Linked DNA regions of Homo sapiens: regions 2, 3, 4 and 5 are each linked to region 1. The links are contacts of gene promoters, found by promoter capture Hi-C in blood cells and fetal thymus (Javierre and others, 2016). All regions are on one chromosome and are shown on one strand. The core of a region is centred on a gene start or on the middle of the fragment in contact, and the rest is flanking DNA. Distances in the headings are between cores, read along the strand shown.

Region 1 (2,659 bases), core at 75-2,574:
TTCCTCCTCTTCAGCTTCATCCTCTGGAGATGCCCCACAAACACCCTCCTTCTGGCCCTGGCCTGAGTTGGGAAGGGCAGCCCAACTGGGTGGCAAGGCCCGGGTCCCAGTATCTTCAGGGGTCTCCCCCTCCTCCTTCTCCCCAGTGGACTTCGAGTGTCCGTTGACCTCTCTGGCAGAAGCCACAGAGGCCAGGGCTGGCAGTTTGGCTGAGGCCAAAGCCCCACCATGGTCGGGTCGGGGCTGCTTGGACTCACCCTGCCCAGGCCCCCCCTTGGCCCTGGGACCTCTGCGGTTGCTGCGTTTGGCGATCAGGTAGATGCGCAGGTAGACAAGGATCATGATGAGGCAAGGAGCAAAGAAAGATCCGATGCTGGAGGCCAGGATGTACCAGGCCTCCTGGTTGAGCTTGCACTGGGGGCGCCCGCGCGGCTGGGGGCCCTGGTCGCCCTTGTAGATGAGGGGCGGCAGCGAGATGACGGCGGCGATGAGCCACACAGTGAGGATGATGCACTTGATGCGGCGCGGGGTGCGCTTGGAGTTGTACTCCAGCGCGCGGCTCACGGCCCAGTAGCGGTCCAGGCTGATGGCGCACAGGTGCACGATGGACGAGGTGCAGAAGAGCACGTCGAGCGCCAGGTACACCTCGCACCACGTGCGCCGGAAGTACCAGTAGCCCAGCAGCTCGTTGGCCAGCGAGAAAGGGATGATGAGCGTGGCCACCAGGATGTCGGCGGCGGCCAGCGACACCAGGAACAGGTTCTGAGGGGCGCGCAGCGAGCGGCTGGTCAACACAGCCAGGATGACCAGAGCGTTGCCGAAGATGGTAAAGAGAATGAGGAAGGTGATGGCCGCCGCTATGGCCGCTGTGGCCTGCACGGAGTAGGGGTCCTGGTGGTCCATGACGGGGCGGGAGGTGGGCAGAGGGAGCGCTGCCCGCCCAGTGCGCACCGTGGACGACAGCGCTGCCCGGCTCGGCTAGACAAGAGCGTCGCCCCTCGGGCGGCGCCGAGGGCGCTGGAGCCCCATGGCCTGGACGAGCGGGGCCTAGGAGGTCGGGAACACCCAGGACCAGCAGCCGCCCTCCTACATCCTCCTCCACCGGTGCCCGGGGTCCCTGCCGTCCGCCCCAGAGAAGTTTCCCAAGTTGTCCCGCCGCCGTCCCCGTCCCGCCCGGGACCGGAGAAAGTCGCGCCCTCCCGCCACGCGGATGCCGTACGCTCTGGGGGCGCGGGCCGGGCTGGGCCGGTTCTTAAAGGAGGCGCGGAGGACCTTGCGCCCGCTCAGCTCGCAGGCTTTCGCCCCAGCCGCGCCTGCAGGGGAGTGGGGAGCGGGGAGAGCGGCTGGAGGAAGGCGGAGACTGGAGGCGGGCGCGGGAGCGGGCGGGAGGCGGGGCGGTGGGCGGACCGAGGTGGGCTGAAGGTGCGCTTCGCGGGAGGCGTGAGCCCGGGACTTCCCGCGCCCGGACCCCGCCCAGCGCCTCTACCTGCCTTCCTCCCGGCGGCCGCGCCTCGGGAGAGCGGAGGGGCCCGGCGGCCGGGGTCTCCGGCCCCCAGGCAGGACGCGCGCAGCTGTGGAGGGGTCGGTGGGTGCCGGGAGCCGGGACGCGGAGCTAGCGCGCGGGCCGGCACCGGGACGGGACACTTCTCCCGGGGGAACCGGGCTGGGCCCGGCGCCGGTGCGCCCTGCTCTGCCTTCCGCCGCTCGGGAGCCCGCAGGGAGGGCAGGGCGGGCGTGGGGCTGGGGCGCCGGGTCGCAATACACCACAACCCCGCCCGGCTCGGCCGTGGAGACGCCCTGCGGAGAGGTGGGGGAGCGGGGAGCGGGGAGCCGGTCCCGACCCTTTCCCAGGCGCTGCCCCTCGCGGACCAGCTCCGTCGGGCCAGCGCCGCGCGAGGAGGGCGCGTCCCGGCCTGCGAGCGCCCCCTGCTGCCGCCCGCGGGCCCAGCCCGTCAGCGGCAGCCCGGGTCCCGGAGCCAGCGCTCGCAGCCTGGGTCTTAGGACTTCGGCTTCTTGTGTCTCCGCAGCTGCCTCAGTTTCCTCCATTAAGGGCAAAGGAGGTAACAGGGAAACTGGCTTGGACTCGAATCACAGCATCAACTGCGATTCAGCCAAGGGTTTGTACGGGGCACAGGGCGAGCTGCCGCCCCTTGACTAATGCGAAGGGGAGGTCCCTTCCTTGCCGTGGGGGAGTAAAGGGTGGGGACTTTGTCACACAGCTCCGAGAAAAAGCAGGTCTCAGGGGCAGCCGTGAAGAGAGGAGCGTCCCTCCGCTTCTGTAGTGACCCCGGGGGAAGGGGTTGACCCTCCCTCCCTGCTGCGGTCCTGCCCCACATACACACTGAAGCCCTTCTGGGGGTGACAGTGGAAAGAGGGTTGGGGTAAAAAGAAACTTCAGACTAAGGCCCCCCACTCGCCTTCAAAGCGCTATGAGCAACTGTTCTCCCTCAGGGCCCCAACTCACTCTCCCTGCCACACCGCCACCAGCACCAGCCTGGGCAGCCCTGAGGGCATGTTTCCCCGGTTCTGGAGCCCCTAATGTCATAAGCCCCGCCTCGAGCCAGGCCTCTTATTCACAGCCCACGACTCTGCAAGGCATCCTCTGTATAAATAAGCACCAATCCACCTCTGACAGTGGGGCTCCCCCAGGCCCCGTCCA
Region 2 (2,659 bases), core at 81-2,580, 460 kb after region 1:
TTCCACCAGGGACCCAACAATGGCTCCATCAAACTGGAAGCTGAGACTGCCTCCATTTAGACATTTTTGGGTGCCTCATGACATTAAATCAAAAAAGAGCAGTGACTTTGCGGGCTGAAGTGACTGACCCCAATTATCAAGGGAAAATTGGGGTTATTACCACACGATCGTGGCAGAGGACTAGGTCTGGAACCCAGGGGATTTTCTGGGGCTCCAATGAACACTTCTAGCAAAAGTTAGTGCTGGCTTCTCCCCCTGCCACATGCACGAATATTTTCCCTTTTGGCTGTGCATTATTTAGTGGCTTTAGGACTAAACTGCTTAGGAAGAGAGGGAAAAAGACAAACCTACAGATTTGAAATTATTGTCCCTTGTTCCAGTTTTCCCTCTCCTTTGCATCTTTTGCTGCTCACCCTTCCCTGTTCTAACTCTCCACTTTTTTTCCATAGGGACCATCTGGTCTAGAATGACTGCTGACCTAATCTGGAATCAATCTCATTTGGTGCTGGGCATGATCCACATAAGAAGAGTCCCACTCCCCACTGCCTTGGTCTGCTTCTCCACTCTCGGAGAGGGCTCACCATGAGAAGCCCTGGCTTAGATCCTCCAGGACAGGTGCTCTCTAGGGAAGTCTGAACACATGGACCAAGAACCAAGTGGTCAAGCCTGGTTTCCACCTTCCTCAGTAATCACTTTAAGCCTGACAAGTTATGGGAAAATGGGATGCCCAGCATTGCCAGAGCCTACGACACCCATGTAGGAGCCATCTACCCATCCAATTAGCCAGACTGTCAATTCAACATGACATACAATTCTTCCTCAAAACCAGATTTGGTACAGATACTCCCTCTTCCTTGCCTGTTACCACCCATATTTGGCACCTCCCACGTGGTCTCTGGGCACTGTGAGCAAGCACAGTGTGTGCTTTTACAGGCCATTTAGATAAGAGGTTTGCAACCAATCAACCCTTTACCTATCATGGATAGGCCATGAGCTACTATTCAGTTTCCGAGCACAGCAGGCTTACCCACCACAACCCTGAGAGCCAAGTCATTGCGATTAGAGATTGCTTGAGAGTGGGCTTTGCAGTGGACTGCCAGAATTCGGCTATGGTTCTGCCACTTACCAGCTGTGTGATTTGGGCAAGTTACTTAACCTCTCTGTGCCTCAGTTTTTCCCTGAACTATAGAATACCAGTAATGATGGCCTAGGATAAAGCTTGAATGTAAGCATTGTTATTGTTCTCCCTACTTGGGGGAGGAGGGGGTGGGTGGAATCAATGCCAAGATGCAAGCAGGACTCAGAATTAACAAATGACACAGAGACAGAGCTGAGAATGGGGGCCAGGGTCCTAATTCTTTTTTTATTTCTTTTTTTTTTTTGAGACAGGGTCTTGCTCCGTCTCCCAGGATATGGAGTGCAGTAGCTCAATCATGGCTTACCGAAGCTTTGAACTCTCGGGCTCAAGAAACCTTCCCACCTCAGTCTCTTGAGTAACTGGGACTACAGGTGCATGCCACCATGTCTGGCTAATTAAAAAAAATTTTTTTTTTGGAGACAGGGGTCTCACTATGTTACCCAGGCTGGTCTTGAACTCCCGGTCTCAAGTGATCCTCCCTTCTCCTGAGTAGCTGAGTTTACAGGCGTGTACCCGCCTGGCTAATGAGTCCTAATACTTTTTTTTTTGAGACAGTGTCTCGCTCTGTCACCCAGGTTGGAGTGCAGTGGCGTGATCTCGGCTCACTGCAAGCTCCACCACCTGGGTTCAAGCTATTCTCCTGCCTCAGCCTCCTGAGTAACTGGGACTACAGGGACCCGCCACCACGCCCGGCTAATTTTTTTCTATTTTTAGTACCGACGAGATTTCACCGTGTTAGCCAGGATGGTCTCGATCTCATGACCTCATGATCTGCCTGCCTCGGCCTCCCAAAGTGCTGGGATTACAGGTGTGAGCCACCGTGCCCGGCCTAATGAGTCCTAATTCTTAATCCTTGGCCTTTCTCTTCAAGTTGCAAGTTGGGGCAGGAAACAAAGGTCAATGCAGGGCAGAGAATTTCTCCTCACGTGCCCCTCCCTTTTTATCAGGAGGAAACCCTTCCCAGTAGCCTCTGGCACAGTCCCCTTAAAATTCACTAGCCAGGACTGGGCTACATGCCCATCCCTCCCTGAGAAAGGGATCTCCCCCAAGTCTTCCACAACACTGTAATTCTAGTGGTATGAAGAATGGGAGAATAAGTCATCAGTTTTGTAGGCCATTCTTAACCTGCCCCTTGGCCACCCTGCCATCAGGATGCTTCCCTAGCCACCTTCTCTTCAAAAGCACCAGTAAATATAAAAAAATCCACTCTCTCCTACAGAGATATTAACCATCCTTTGCTTGAGCTACTAATACCTTACAGTCAGAGCCATCTCATCTATTCCAGTTTCTCAAGGAACCTTCCCCAAACCAAAAGCTCTCTTCCCCAAGAGGAATTCTGGTGCCAACTCATTACAAAAACTAATAAAAAACTACATGCATGGTGTGATTCCAACTACTGAAAAATATGTATGGAAAAGGACTAGAAACAAACACACTAAAATGTAAACAGACAATGCTTCTGGTTGATGAGATTATAGATATTCTTTTTTTTCTTCTTTATGCTTTTCTATACTGGCCAAC
Region 3 (2,659 bases), core at 72-2,571, 400 kb after region 1:
TCCACCCCCAGCCCCCTCATTCTCCCTCTCTTGGAGCCAATTCAAATCTCCTCACCCCCAAATCTATTTCTCATGCAGAGCAGTACAGCTCCCCCTCTGAACTAATATTATCCCCAGGCCTAACTTTGCGTGCCCCCAAATCTCCCTGAGGTGCTCTGCTAAACATCAAGACCACTGACTTCAGATTCTGGCAACACCATGGACTCAGCTAATGCTGATGCCACCTCCCCTGCCAACACTGAGAAACTCAGTACCAAATATAAGTGAAAGATGTTAGAACAACAGTGGAACTTGAAAAAGGAGTGGAGAAGCATTGAGGTGTCGAGTGTACAGAGAGAACTTAGAGCCAGATTTGGGCTTTAACCCAGGGGGCCCAGTGAGAAACTGGACATGGACGGGGGCCCCACCAACGGGAGCTGAGGGTTCAACACCCACTAGGATCCAGAGGTGTGGCCTTGTGGAGAACTGGAACTGAGACCTCTGTATAAAGCAAGAACCCTGGAAGGATGGCCCCTCAGAAAAGAATTACCCACAAAACTAGGAGGTGACACATGAATTTTGTCTTTGCCCAGGCCTCTGGGTGGAAGAAAAGTTTCCTGGGAAAAATCAAAACTGAAAACCAAAACTATTCATGAAGGTGGCAGCCAAATTTATGATATCCATATGGCAAAGAATTCCCAAGATGAAAAATTACACAAAAATGCTCCCCCATGAGCCCTTGGGAGCAGTTGTCAGAAACAAATACAAAACATCTCTGAGGCCATTTTCACAATCCAGAATATATAGGACTCCCATGGAACAAAACAACTCCACTGCAGATGAGTTCACAAACAACAGCTACAAATCACATGAAGAAACCATCTGCCATGAAGGAGAGCCAGCAGGCACAACACACAAGAAAATCATTAACTCCAGCTGGGCGTGGTGGCTCACGCCTGTAATCCCAGCACTTTGGGAGGCTGAGGCAGATGGATCACGAGGTCAGGAGATCGAGACCATCCTGGCTAACACGGTGAAACCCTGTCTCTACTAAAAATACAAAAAAATTAGCCAGGCGTGGTGGCGGGCACCTGTAGTCCCAGCTACGGGAGTCTGAGGCAGGAGAATGGCGTGATCCCGGGAGGCGGAGCTTACAGTGAGCCGAGATTGCACCACTGCACTCCAGCCTGGACTACAGAGTGAGACTCCATCTCAAAAAAAAAAAAAAGGAAAAAGAAAATCATTACCTCTAAGAACCTGAAATAATAGGACAAGCCAAAAGAGATATAAAATTAGCATATTAAAATGATTAAAAATACAAAGGAAGGAATAAAAATGATAAAGAACAGGATACTGTGTAAAACAACAGATTTGGAAAAGAACCACAGAGACAAAAGAATATGGTTATTGAATTTGTAAACACAATATACTGGCAAGCCAGCAGATTAGACACAGTTGAATTGAGAATAGGTGTACTGGAAGGCAGATCTGCAGAAATTCACCAGAACTCTGGCAAAGAGAATATTTGAAAGAAAAGCTAAAAGACATGGATAATAAAACGAGAAAGTCCAATATACCACTAATAGGAGTTCCAGAAGAAAAAGTCAAAATGAATCAGAAAGTGATAATATTTGCCACATTCAAACAAATAATGCATGAAGTTTTTCTAGAACAAGAAATAGCCATAAATCTTCAGATTGAAGAGGCCCATTGATTACTGAGCATGATAAAAATAAATATACAAATAGACATTGCAGAACACCAAAGGTAGATCTTAAAAGCAACTAGGGAGAAAATACAGCTTAATTTAAAAGGATCAATAATTAGATTGGAGACAAATTTTCTTAATAATATCTGCCAAAAACAATAAACATAAATATATTCAATGTGCTGAGGGAAGACAACCATGAACTTCAAGTTCCAGACCCATGAAAATTATTATTTAAGAGTAAGGGGGAAAAGATATTTGCAGACAAAAACAAGTTTTATCACTCAAGATCCTCACTGAAATAATTACTATAGGAACTGTAGGATATATATTGGTAAGATGGAAATGGAACCCACAGGAAATATATGCAATCGAAGTGTCCCAGTTATTTTTTGGGGGTATAACAAGCCACCCCAAATTTAGTGAAGTAAAAGAACAGCCATTTTATTATGCTCACAGGTTTTGTGGGTTAGGAACTCAAACAGATACAGCAAGGATGGCTCGACTTTTTTTTTTTTTTTTTGAGATGGTGTTTCGCTCTTGTTGCCCAGGCTGGAGTGCAATGGCACAATCTCAGTTCACTGAAACCTCCACCTCCCAGGTTCAAGCGATTCTTCTGCCTCAGCCTCCCAAGTAGCTGGGATTACAGGCGTGCACAACCACGACCGGCTAATTCTTGTATTTTTAGTAGAGACGGGGTTTCACCATGTTGGCCAGGCTGGTATTGAGCCCCTGAGCTCAAGTGATCCACCCACCTCGGCCTCCCAAAGTGCTGGGATTACAGGCATGAGCCACCAAGCCCAGCCAGCTCAACTTTTTAAATGATGTCTGGGGCTCCAGCTGGAAAGTCCTGAATGGCTCATGTGGCTGAGGGCTGGAAGCACCTGGAGGCCCCTTCACTCACATATCTAGGATCTGAGCTAAGATTATTCAAAGACCATGCTGAGTGAAGACTGTTGACTGTAACATCTA
Region 4 (2,659 bases), core at 58-2,557, 380 kb after region 1:
CTGTTAAATGATAAACTTTGAGTCTTTTTATATCTGAATATTTCTTCATTTTACGCTCACCTTTGAATGAGAGAGTCGCTGTCTGCAGAATTTTAGATTTCAAAATTATTTCCTCATCAAAATGGGGACTTAAGATCTGTGCATAGGCCAGGCACAGTGGCTCATGCCTATAATCTCAGTACTTTGGGAAACCAACACAAGTGGATCACTTGGGCCCAGGAGTTCAAGACCAGCCTGGGCAATATTGCAAGATCTCATCTGTACTAAATATTAAAAAATTAGTCAGGTGTGGCAGCATGTGCCTGTAGTCCCAGCTTACTCTGAAGGCTGAGGTGGGAGGATCACCTGAGGCCAGGGAGGCGGAGGCTGCAGTGAGCCATGATTGTGCCACTGCACTCCAGCCTGGATGACAGAGTGAGACCTTGTCTCAAAAAGAAAAAAAAAAGATATGTGCATATTATTATAGTAAATATGCTTCAATTAAAGAAAATCCCCCTGAACTTTGAAGATATTGTTCTATTGTCATTCTGTACCAAGTATTGCTGAGAAAAAGCCTACTGATAATGTGATTCTAATACTTTTGTGTGTGATCTGTTTTGGGGTGTTTTTTTTTTCTTCTTGGGTTTTCTGTTTATCCCTGGTACTCTGAAATGTCACCAGTATGTGTCAAAATGAAAGTCTTTTCTTCACTTATTCTGTTTGGCAACTGGGGGGCTTTTTCAATCTGAAAAGCTATGTCTTTCTTCAATTCTGAGAAATTGTTCTTTTATTTTTATTTCTGGTAGAGATGGGAGTCTTATATGTTGGCCAGGCTGGTCTTGAACTCCTGGCCACAAGCGATCCTCCCACCTTGGCCTCCCAAAGTGCTGGGATTATAGGCATGAGCCACCATGCCCAGCTCTAATCTTTCTTTGAGTTTCTCTTTTGTCCATTTTCTCTATTTTTTTCTTCTGGAATTCACATTGGATGGTTATTTGAACTTCATCTATTCTGTTTATTCTCTTTTTATATATTTCATCTCTTGTTAATTTTGGAATGCATTCTGGTTGATTCCAGATCATTAATACATTTTTCAGCTACATACTTTCTGCTACTCACTCTATCAAATAAGTTATTTTAAATTTTAATAGTCAAGCTTCTAATTCCAAAGGTATCTAGATTTTTCAATGCAATATCCTTTCATATGTGATTATAGTTATCCTAAAGCCCAGGTTTGTATGCTTTATTAACCCTATTTTTTCAGGTATGAACTCCTTTTGCTGTCAGTCCTTTCCATCATGATATTCACTTTTTTCAAATATTTGGCTTTTCTTGGCTGTGAGTTCACCTTTGGATCTGAAATTCCTTGTTAGCCTAAGTGGCCTGCTTGCAGACAGGTGCAGGACATGCAGCTATGACTTGGTGTACCTGTGTAAAGTGGAATGAAGGGATGGGATGTGCTGCTGGGCAGCATGAGCCAATGGTGAAACTTCCAGATGTGGAAGCTTCCTGCTATCCTTGGGAGCTGTTAATCTCTGGGGCTTTGTCTTGCCTCACACCCAATTGTTCACCTCTCACTGATCCTGCCCATGGGAAGACACCTCTGTGACTCACTGTGTGGCCTGAGGTGAACATTCCTGGCTGTCTATTCTGTGAGCCTCTACCAGTCACGGTCAGTCGATCATGGACCACCTGCGGTTCCCAGTTCACAAGTCCTGAGTTTGAAGCATTCCTAGAGCTGCTCTCACCTTTTGCGGCAGTCCTCTCCTCTGGCACGGTTTCCATATTTAATCTGATCCCACCTGTTTTCCACCTTTTATTGTGGTTTTAGTTCACCAGATTTTCCCTATATTGTTTTATAGGGAAGAAATATATTTGTTTAAATCATTCTGAGCAATGTATAGAGACTTGGAATAAAAGGAAACAACTACATGTGCTCAGTCTATCATCTTGAAATGGAAGTTGAAAAGCTCTTAGTATAGGCTTTTTTTTTTTTTGACAGAGTCTCACTCTGTCGCCCAGGCTGGAGTGCAGTGGCATGATCTTGGCTCACTGCAACCTCTGCCTCTCAGGTTCAAGCGAGTCTTCTGCCTCAGCTTCCTGAGTAGCTGGGACTACAGGCGTGCGCCACCACGCCTGGCTAATTTTTGTATTTTTAGTAGAGACAGGGTTTCACCATATTGGCCAAGCTGGTCTCACACTCCTGACCTTGTGATCTGCCTGCCTCAGCCTCCCAAAGTGCTGGGATTACAGGCGTCAGCCACCGCACCCAGCCAGTATAAGCTATTCTAACACTTACCACATTGAATATAATTATTTATTCCCCAGTATTGCTCCCAAGGACATAGGCAAGTCTGTGCTCATACTAAGATGGCTTCTAGAGTCAGATGTTTCAATATTCTTGGAATTAATTTGATGAATGAAGAAATGATTGCATCAGTGTGGTTATAACAAGGATCTAATTCTTATCCCATCATTTATAAGATGATTCCTTCTACCTGCCCCTCAGTTTTCCTATCTATAAAATTAGAGAAATGTTAGAGATCATTCCTTTCATTTCAGTCTTAAAGAAATATGGGAAAGAAATATGGGAATATTTCTTGTAGAGCACATGTACTGGTAATGAATTTTCTGTTCTTGTTTATCTGGGAATATCTTAATTTCTTCTTCACTTTTGAAG
Region 5 (2,659 bases), core at 70-2,569, 350 kb after region 1:
TGTGTTAGTGATCTATTGCTGCATAACAAATTACCCTAAAACTCAAGGGTTTGAAACAATAAATATTTATTATCTCACACAGCTTCTGTGAGTCAAGAATTTGGGAGCAACTTAGCTAGGTGCTTCTGGGTAGGCGCCTTGCATGAGAATGCATTTGAGATATGGCTAGGGTTGCTGTCTTCTCTCTGAAGACTTGACTGGGGACTGTTGGGCTCACTAACATGGCTGTTGGCAGGAGGCTTCAGCTTCTCTTCATGTAGACCTCTCCACCGGGGCTGCTTGAGTTTTCTCACAATGTGACAGCTGGCTTCCTCAAGGGCAGGTAATCCAAGAGATTACCAAGGGCAGGTAATCCAAGAGACAGTGGGGAGGAAGCAGCCATGCCTTTAATGACCTAGTCTTGGAGGTCATGCCCTGCCAATTCTGGATGATGGAGCCATTAGTTGATGACACCTGGAAGAGGGCAGGTTAGGAGAGTCTGTGTGTAGGGGGCAGTATTCAAGGTGAGGTTCGAGGAAGGATTTTCCAGATGCAGCATCTCTCAGGCCCTTTGGAAAGTGTGCCATTCATGAAAAACCTTGTGACTCGTAAGGCTTTAGTTGGCAAGAGAGATTTTTGTGGAAAACTATGCATAAGGGAAAAGCAATGGAAACATCAAACAGACATTTATTTATTTATTTTTATTTTACTTTAAGTTCTGGGATACATGTGCAGAATGTGCAGGTTTGTTACATAGGTATACATGTGCCATGGTGGTTTGCTGCACCTATCAACCCATCATCTAGGTTTTAAGCCCCACACACATTAGGTATTTTTCCTAATGCTCTCCCTCCCCTTGTCCCTCATGCTCTGACAGGCCCTGGTATGTGATATTCCCCTCCCTGTATCCATGTGTTCTTATTGTTCAAGTCCCACTTATGAGTGAGAACATGTGGTATTCGGCTTTGTGTTCCTGTGTTAGTTTGCTGAGAATGATGGCTTCAAGCTTCATCCATGTCCCTGCAAAGGACATGAACTCATTCTTTTTATGGCTGTATAGTATTCCACAGTGTATATGTGTCACATTTTCTTTATCCAGTCTATCATTAATGGGCACAACCAGACATTTAAAATCCGCTGTGTTAAAGTTCTAGTTTCCAAGCAGATCAGATTCTCTGATATTTAAAACCTACATTCCCTTTGTTCAAATCAATTTCTTCAATGGTCCAGGAAACCCCACCAAGTTCCCCCAGGCTCTCCACAGACTCTTTAAAGACCTGCAAGGTGGTGCCCTTGCCGCTGCATTTGCTCTTCATATGGTTCAGCTCAGGCTGCCTTAATAAAGCCCCATCGACTGGGGGCTTAACCACATACTGATTTCCTACAGTTCCTGAGGCTGGAAGTCCGAGATCAGAGTGCCAAGATGGTCAGGTTCTGTTAAGGGCCCTCTTCCTGGCTTGTAGGTGGCCTTTCTCACTGTGTCCTCACATGGCAAGAGAGGAAGATGAGTTCTCTGGTGTCTCTTTTTATAAGGATATTAATCCTATTTTGTATTGTTTCTGTCACTTTCAGTCCATGCTGATGGCGTTTCTGCCAACCATTTTCTTAAAACCTTTGTGAGTTTCTTGTAAATCTTAGTGGGGTTCACTTCACTAAAGACAAAAGTCACCCTTACAAAGCTTTCTGTTTGTTTGTTTTTGAGACGGGGGTCTCGCTCTGTCGCCCAGGCTGGAGTGCAGTGGTGTGATCACAGCTCACTGCAGCCTTGACCTCCTGGGCTCGAGCAATTCTCCCACCTCAGCTACCGAGTAGCTGATGCTACAGGTATGCACCACCACACCTGGCTAATTTTTTTTTAAGTTTTTTTTTTTTTAACTCTCAGAGCCCCAGCTCTGCTCTGTAGACATAGGGTCTCACTATGTTGCCCTGGCAGGTCTCCAGCACCTGGGCTCAAATGGTCTGCCTGTCTCAGCCTCCTACAAACCTTTTGGATAAGCCCTTCTCTACTGTGGACTTCTACTGAGACTGTAGCCCTAATTTTGCATAAATAGTTCTCCAAGGCACCTCCTTTAACTACCTTAAAAAGCAGTTCCATCATATCCTGTTTCTCTTTCTTTTAGAGACAGGGTCTTTCTATGTTGCCCAGGCTGGCCTTGAACTCCTGGTCTCAAGTAATGCTCAGGCCTCAGCCTCCTGAGTGGGCCTATGGGCACGCACCATCGCAACTGGCTTCCAGAACCTTTATTTGTCTCAGTGTGGTTTCACTCTGTGAATAGCTGTTCTGGGGTCTCTAGCCAATGTCCCATGTGTTCAAAGAACTCCCCGTTCTTTGGCTGGTAGAAACTTGAATAGTTCCTGGCTCTGTGTAAGATGTGAGAATTATTTGGCATGCAGTCATTGTTCTTTCCCAGGTAGTTGGGTTTTTTTTGTCTGGCTTTATGGAGTTTTCGCCTTATTCATTCACATACTGATATTCAGCCAAAAAGCTTATGTGACCCCTATTAGTATTTCTGGAGCTTTTCTCCACCTGGATTCTTTGTCTCTGGTACTCTGCTTTCCAAATTCTGATTACCACAGCCTAGCAAACACCGATTCCATTGTCCTCTACTCAGCAAGACTGCCACACCTTGCTGGGGATGCCCTTTCTATACTACACTCTGGGAACTGCCTCCAGGTAGGA

Evidence for each region. The method cuts DNA at HindIII sites, captures the fragments that hold promoters and counts their contacts. A CHiCAGO score of 5 or more calls a contact.
Region 2: a fragment that was not itself captured here is called in contact with the fragment with the promoter of ADRA2B in region 1 in 4 of 17 cell types (total B cells, naive CD8 T cells, total CD4 T cells and 1 more); the score reaches 6.5 in total B cells.
Region 3: a fragment that was not itself captured here is called in contact with the fragment with the promoter of ADRA2B in region 1 in 2 of 17 cell types (total B cells and activated CD4 T cells); the score reaches 5.9 in total B cells.
Region 4: a fragment that was not itself captured here is called in contact with the fragment with the promoter of ADRA2B in region 1 in 3 of 17 cell types (total CD8 T cells, neutrophils and total B cells); the score reaches 6.7 in total CD8 T cells.
Region 5: a contact is called between a fragment that was not itself captured here and the fragment with the promoter of ADRA2B in region 1, in 1 of 17 cell types (erythroblasts). The highest score is 5.7, in erythroblasts.

Annotation. Positions count from the first base shown.
Region 1 is chr2:96,115,247-96,117,905 of GRCh38, forward strand. It overlaps ADRA2B (adrenoceptor alpha 2B), which reads right to left and starts at 1,325. Exons shown (of 1, transcript NM_000682.7): 1 at 1-1,325. The coding sequence starts at 903. RefSeq lists silencers at 1,225-1,314, 1,415-1,574, 1,585-2,044, 2,085-2,154. The HindIII fragment of the contact is 8,066 bases long and covers 1-2,659 here.
Region 2 is chr2:96,576,786-96,579,444 of GRCh38, forward strand. No RefSeq gene overlaps it. Among named protein-coding and RNA genes, the nearest start is that of ARID5A, 41 kb to the left of the region's middle. The HindIII fragment of the contact is 229 bases long and covers 1,217-1,445 here.
Region 3 is chr2:96,515,792-96,518,450 of GRCh38, forward strand. No RefSeq gene overlaps it. Among named protein-coding and RNA genes, the nearest start is that of NEURL3, 12 kb to the left of the region's middle. The HindIII fragment of the contact is 4,133 bases long and covers 1-2,659 here.
Region 4 is chr2:96,491,687-96,494,345 of GRCh38, forward strand. No RefSeq gene overlaps it. Among named protein-coding and RNA genes, the nearest start is that of NEURL3, 12 kb to the right of the region's middle. RefSeq lists an enhancer at 1,290-1,949. The HindIII fragment of the contact is 349 bases long and covers 1,134-1,482 here.
Region 5 is chr2:96,464,512-96,467,170 of GRCh38, forward strand. No RefSeq gene overlaps it. Among named protein-coding and RNA genes, the nearest start is that of NEURL3, 40 kb to the right of the region's middle. The HindIII fragment of the contact is 673 bases long and covers 984-1,656 here.